Regions from separate parts of the Homo sapiens genome. Here region 2 is linked to region 1. The links are contacts of gene promoters, found by promoter capture Hi-C in human tissues and cell types (Jung and others, 2019). All regions are on one chromosome and are shown on one strand. Each heading gives the region's core, a stretch centred on a gene start or on the middle of the fragment in contact. The rest is flanking DNA. Distances are from core to core; before and after follow the strand shown.

Region 1 (2,813 bases), core at 48-2,547:
CTTTGGGGGCGGCCTCCTATCCCCGGGGCCTGAAGCCACGTAGCCCCGCGATGCCAGAGGAGGGGCACTGGGTGGGGAGGGAGGTGGAGGAGCCGTGCAATCCCAACCAGGATGTCTAGCACCCCCATCCCCTTGGCCCTTCCTCATGCTTCTGAAGTGGACATATTCAGCCTTGGCGAGAAGCTCCGTTGCACGGGTTTCCCCTTGAGCCCATTTTACAGATGAGGAAACTGAGTCCGGAGAGGAAAAGGGACATGGCTCCCGTGCACTAGCTTGTTACAGCTGCCTCTGTCCCCACATGTGGGGGCACCTTCTCCAGTAGGATTCGGAAAAGATTGTACATATGGGAGGAGGGGGCAGATTCCTGGCCCTCCCTCCCCAGACTTGAAGGTGGGGGGTAGGTTGGTTGTTCAGAGTCTTCCCAATAAAGATGAGTTTTTGAGCCTCCGGGGTTTCGTCTGTTCTGGGCTTGGGAAACGCCCTAGTCCCTTAGTAGCAAAGAAAGCCTCCAGGCTGGGGGCTCAGGCCTGTCATCCCAGCACTTTGGGAGGCCAAAGCAGGAGGATCGCTTGAGCTCACGAGTTTGAGACCAGCCTGGGCAACATGACGAAACCTAGTCTCTACAAAAAATACAAAAATTAGCCGGGCGTGGTGCTGCGCGCCTGTAATCCCAGCTACTCTAGAGGCTGAGGTGGGAGGATCGCTTGAGCCCAGGAGGTGGACGTTGCAGTGAGCCAAGACCGCACCACTGCACTCCAGCTTGGGCGACAGCGCGAGGCTGTGTCTCAAAAAAATAAAAAATGAAAATGAAAATAAAAAATGAGACCGGGCATGGTGGCTCATGGCTGTAATCCCAGCACTTTGGGAGGCCGAGGCAGGTGGATCACCTGAGGTCAGGAGTTTGAGACCAGCCTAACCAAAATGGTGAAACCCCATCTCTACTAAAAATACAAAAATTAGCCGGGCTTGGTGGCGCGCGCTTGTAGTCCCAGCTACTCGGGAGGCTGAGGTGGGAGAATAGCTGAAACCCAGGAGGCAAAGGTTGCAGTGAGCCTAGATCGCGCCACTGCCTTCTAGCCTGGGAGACAAAGAGAGACTCCGTCTCAAAAAAATAAAATTAAATAAATAAATAAAATAAAAAAGATAAAAAGATAAAGCATCCAAGCTCTTCCCTTCTCCGCTCTCCCACTTCTTCCTCGGGATCCCGCCCCTCTCGACTCTAGGACCCGCCTCTCTCGTCGGCGGAAGTGCGCTGCGCGGCCCTCCACCATGCTCCGCCCCCTCCCCCTAGCGCGGCCTTTCATTTCCGCTTCCGGTGCGGGCCGCGCGCGAGCGCAGCGGTGGGAGGCGGCGACCAGCCGGTGAGTGCAGGCTGCGGCTCGACCTCCCGGTTTTCGGGCAGGCCTCAGCCCAGCTTCTCCCTTTCCTCAGGCTCTCCCCATGCTGCTGTGGGCTTCTGCTGCGTCCCGGCCCCGAGGATCGCTCGTCCCTCACCCCATTAGGCCTGACGGGCCTCAGGCCGAGCCCGTGCCCCGGCTGTGGGCCAGAAGTTGCCGCGTCGAACTCGGCCTTCGGCCCAGCAGCTTATCACAGGCCCCGCCCCCTTGTCAAAAAAAAAAACAACAAAAAAAAAACCCAGCCCAAATCCTCAGGCCGCGACGCGATCCACAAGCCCCGTCCAAACCTTCGGTCTCCGCCCTTTCCCGCAAGCCCTGCCCCCAAGCTCAGCCCACGCCCTCCTGTCAGCCAGCTCCGCCTCTCTCAGGCTCTACGCTCTTTTTCTTTGGATGCTCTCCCCACCCCGCCATCTAGATCCCATCTTTAGACCTCAGCTTCACTCTGGTCTCCTTGCAACACTCCCTCCCCGTGTTCCCACTCCCTCTAGCATCTTCATCTTCCGCCACGCCCTTCACCTGTCCTCGACCTCCACCTTCATACAACTGCACTGTTCCCTTAAAAGCTTTCTCCGATTTCCTCCACCTGCCTTCATCCTTATTCTCCTTATCCCTCTACCACCCAGACTCATACCCAACCCCACGCATGGCCCCTAGTGGGAGCCTTTTCAGTTCTTCTCTTTCTCTTGAGCTCCAGCCTTAAGTGCTCAGGGTTTGCCTTCTGACCCTACTTCAAACACTGCTGATGTTTCAAAACCTTTCATTCCCGACTCCAGCGCGTGGAATCTAGGACACCCCTTTCCCAGTGATGCTCACCTCAGAATCACCTGAGGGTTTTTCAGAATGCCCAAGCTTCTAGATCGAAGTTGTTAGGGATGGACTTGAACATCTGGCATACTGTTCTGCAGCTTCACTTCTGCTCCCTGAAGCTAAGAGATGTGTTGTTTGGGATCGACTCTGCCACCAACTTGTTAGATGACTTTGATTCTGCCCATACGGGTTTCACAGACCATCTGACTTTCCTGGTCCCTTCATCCCTCAGGTTGAGGCCCCAGGCTTGGCCTCACCACAATGTGGCACGAGGCTCGGAAGCATGAGCGGAAGCTTCGAGGCATGATGGTCGACTACAAGAAGAGGGCGGAGCGGAGACGGGAGTATTATGAAAAGATCGTGAGTAACTGGCCTTTTGTCTGGGGTGAGGGACCCTGGGTTGGGGGGCACAGCTGGTCATCCTGGTAAAATCTGGGCTTGGAAGTATGTCAAGACAAGAGGCTCATTTCCTCAGGAGTATATTCATTAATCTTTTCTTGAGGATAATCATTGGTGGGATCCCAAGGGCTTCTGTTTGTTGTAGCATACTGTGTCGTTTGGTGTGGCCTCCCAGTGCCGATCCGGTGTTAGCAAGAAAAAGGGAAGTCT
Region 2 (2,790 bases), core at 107-2,606, 1.3 Mb before region 1:
CAGGATGGAGTGCAGTCACATGATATCAGCTCACTGCAACCTCCACCTCCCGGGTTCAAGCGATTCTCCAACCTCAGCCTCCTGAGTTGCTGGGATTATAGGCATGAGCCACCGTGCCCGGCTAATTTTTTTGTACTTTTAGTAGAAACGGGGTTTCACTGTGTTGGCCAATCTGGTCTTGAACACCTGGCTTCAAGTGATCCTCCTGCTTTGGCCTCCCAAAGTGCTGGGGTTACAGGTATGAATGACCATGCCCAGCGTATTTTTGCATTTAGTTAAATTCTGGTTTTGGGCAGTTTTAAGATCTAATTTCAATGTCTTTTCTGTAGACTGCAGTCACTTTTGGGGTGAAACAGGGAATCTGAACATGTATGTCTCAAAGTTTGACTTTGTGGCTGGGCGCAGGGCTCATACCTGTAATCCCAGCACTTAGGGAGTCCGAGGCAGCAGGATCACTTGAGCCCAGGAGTTGGAGACCAGCCTAGGCAACATGGCGAGACCCTGTCTCTACAAAAAATACAAAAAACTAGCCAGGCATGTGGCACGCGCCTGTAGGCCTAGCTACTCAGGAGGCTGAGGTGGGAGGATCACTTGGGCCTCAGAGGTCAAGGCTGTAATGGGCCATGATCGTGCCACTGCACTCCAGCCTGGGTGACAGAATGAGATCCTATCTCAAAAAAAGAAAAAATAGGCTGGGCGCAGTGGCTCACGCCCGTAATCCCAGCATTTTGGGAGGCCGAGGTGGGCGGATTACTTGAGGTCAGGAGTTCAAGACCAGCCCGGCCAACATGGTGAAACCCCATCTCCATCTCCACTAAAAACACAAAAATTAGCTGGGCGTGGTGGCAGGCACCTGTAATCCCAGCTACTTGGGAGGCTGAGGCAGGAGAATCGCTTGAACCCAGTGGGCATAAGTGGCAGTGAGCCGAGATCATGCCACTGCACTCCAGCCTGGGCAAAACCCCATCTCAAAAATAAATAAATAAATAAATATGAAAGATGTGGATACAGAAGTCAATGCCCTTTAGTTTGGCAGCACAGGGATTGGTGAGAAGGACTTAATGTGGCTCTTTCTGGTAAGGCTGGATAGAATTCTTGCGTACGTGTCTTTTCCAATAGACAAAGTCGCCAGGCTGCAGATCATGGTGTTGTAGGTCTTTGTCTCCTATGATTGTGCTGTGGAAAGATTGTTCTATCAAAATATGATTTCTATCCATTGCTTTATTAATGCCTTTACCTTAGTAAGGCTTTATTAATATTGAAGTATGTCTGTTTTGTTTTTTTTTGTTTTTTTGTTTTTGTTTTGAGACAGTGTCTCCCTCTGGTGCCCAGGCTGGAGTACGGTAGCGGGATCTTGGCTCATTGCAACCTCTGCCTCCCGGTTGAAGTGATCGTCCCGTCTCAGCATCCCGAGTAGCTGGGACTACAGGTGCACACACAACTACACCCAGCTAATTTTTGTGTTTTTGTAGAGACAGGGTTTTGCCATGTTACCCAAGCTGGTCTCGAGCTCCTGGACTCAAGCGATCCCCTTGCTTCAGCCTCCCAAAGTGTTAGGATTTTACGAGTGTGAGCCACTGCACCCAGATGGATATGTCTCCTTTTATCAATTAAGGGTCAAAAGCAGAGGAGGCCAAGTGCATAGGATGGCCTGTGACTATTTCCAAAGGTGAAAGTTTATGAGCCCCAAAGAGAGTGGCCCTTAGATTTAATAATACCAAAGGAGGAACTTAGGTCAAGGAAGGTGTAGATAAATTCTGCCAACTGGGTTTTTTGTTTTTTTGTTTTGAAATGGAGTCTCACTCTATCACCTAGGCTGGAGTGCAGCGGCTTGATCTCAGCTCACTGCAACCTCTGTCCCCTGGGTTTGAGCAATTCTCCTGCCTCAGCCTCCCAAGTAGCTGGGATTATAGGCGTGTACCACCACACCTGGCTAATTTTTGTATTTTTAATAGGGATGGGGTTTCACCATGTTGGCCAGGCTGGTCTTGAACTCCTGATCTCAAGTGATCTGCCTGCCTCAGCCTTCCAAAGTGCTGGGGTTACAGGGGTGAGCTACTGTGCCCGGCCATCCAACTGGGTTTTTATAGTTCCCCTTGTTTGTTCCACTGAGCCAGAAGATTGGGGATTGTAGACAGTGGAAATGCTGAGAAATTGGCCAAACTGAACTCACTTGTTTTATTATATGGCCAGTAAAATGGGCTCCTGATCACGATGTACTTCAAGGGGAGTTCCCTAGGTGGGAATACTTTTTTTCCAGGAGAATTTTGGCCACAGCTGAAGCAGTGGCTTGTCTACCAGGAAAGCCTCTACCCAATAGGAGAATGTGCAAACTGTTACTAGTACATATATATATATATATATATATATACACACACACACACACACACACACACACACACACACACGGAAGTGGGTAGTTGGATAAAATCCATTTGCCAAACCTTGAAGGGCCCATTAGGTAGATTAAAATGTCCAGGATCGGGATGTACACATTTTCCTGAGTTAAACTTACGGCAGGTGGCACAAGTGCCAAATAGGCTTTTTTTTTTTTTTTTGGCAGCTTTTTTTTTTTTTTTTTTTTTTTTTTTTGAGAGAGGGTCTCATTCTGTCACTCAGACTGGAGTGCAATGGCACGATCTCCACTCACTGCAGCCTTGATCTCCTAGGCTCAGGTGACTCTCCCACCTCAGCCTCCCCAGTAGTTGAAACTACTTATTTTGATATTTTTAGTAGAGACACGATTTCCCTATGTTGCCCAGGCTGGTCTCGAACTCCTGGACTCAAGCA

Evidence for each region. Contacts are between HindIII fragments. The study calls those that stand out against the background at their distance.
Region 2: a contact is called between a fragment that was not itself captured here and the fragment with the promoter of CLASRP in region 1, in 1 of the 25 tissues and cell types used here (liver).

The regions. Positions count from the first base shown.
Region 1 is chr19:45,037,748-45,040,560 of GRCh38, forward strand. CLASRP (CLK4 associating serine/arginine rich protein) reads left to right here and starts at 1,298. Exons shown (of 21, transcript NM_007056.3): 1 at 1,298-1,361; 2 at 2,437-2,564. The coding sequence starts at 2,466. It overlaps RELB (RELB proto-oncogene, NF-kB subunit), which reads left to right. Exons shown (of 12, transcript NM_006509.4): 12 at 1-445. The coding sequence ends at 43. RefSeq lists an enhancer at 972-1,841. The HindIII fragment of the contact is 17,106 bases long and covers 1-2,813 here.
Region 2 is chr19:43,722,461-43,725,250 of GRCh38, forward strand. No RefSeq gene overlaps it. Among named protein-coding and RNA genes, the nearest start is that of IRGC, 7.8 kb to the left of the region's middle. The HindIII fragment of the contact is 3,341 bases long and covers 1-2,790 here.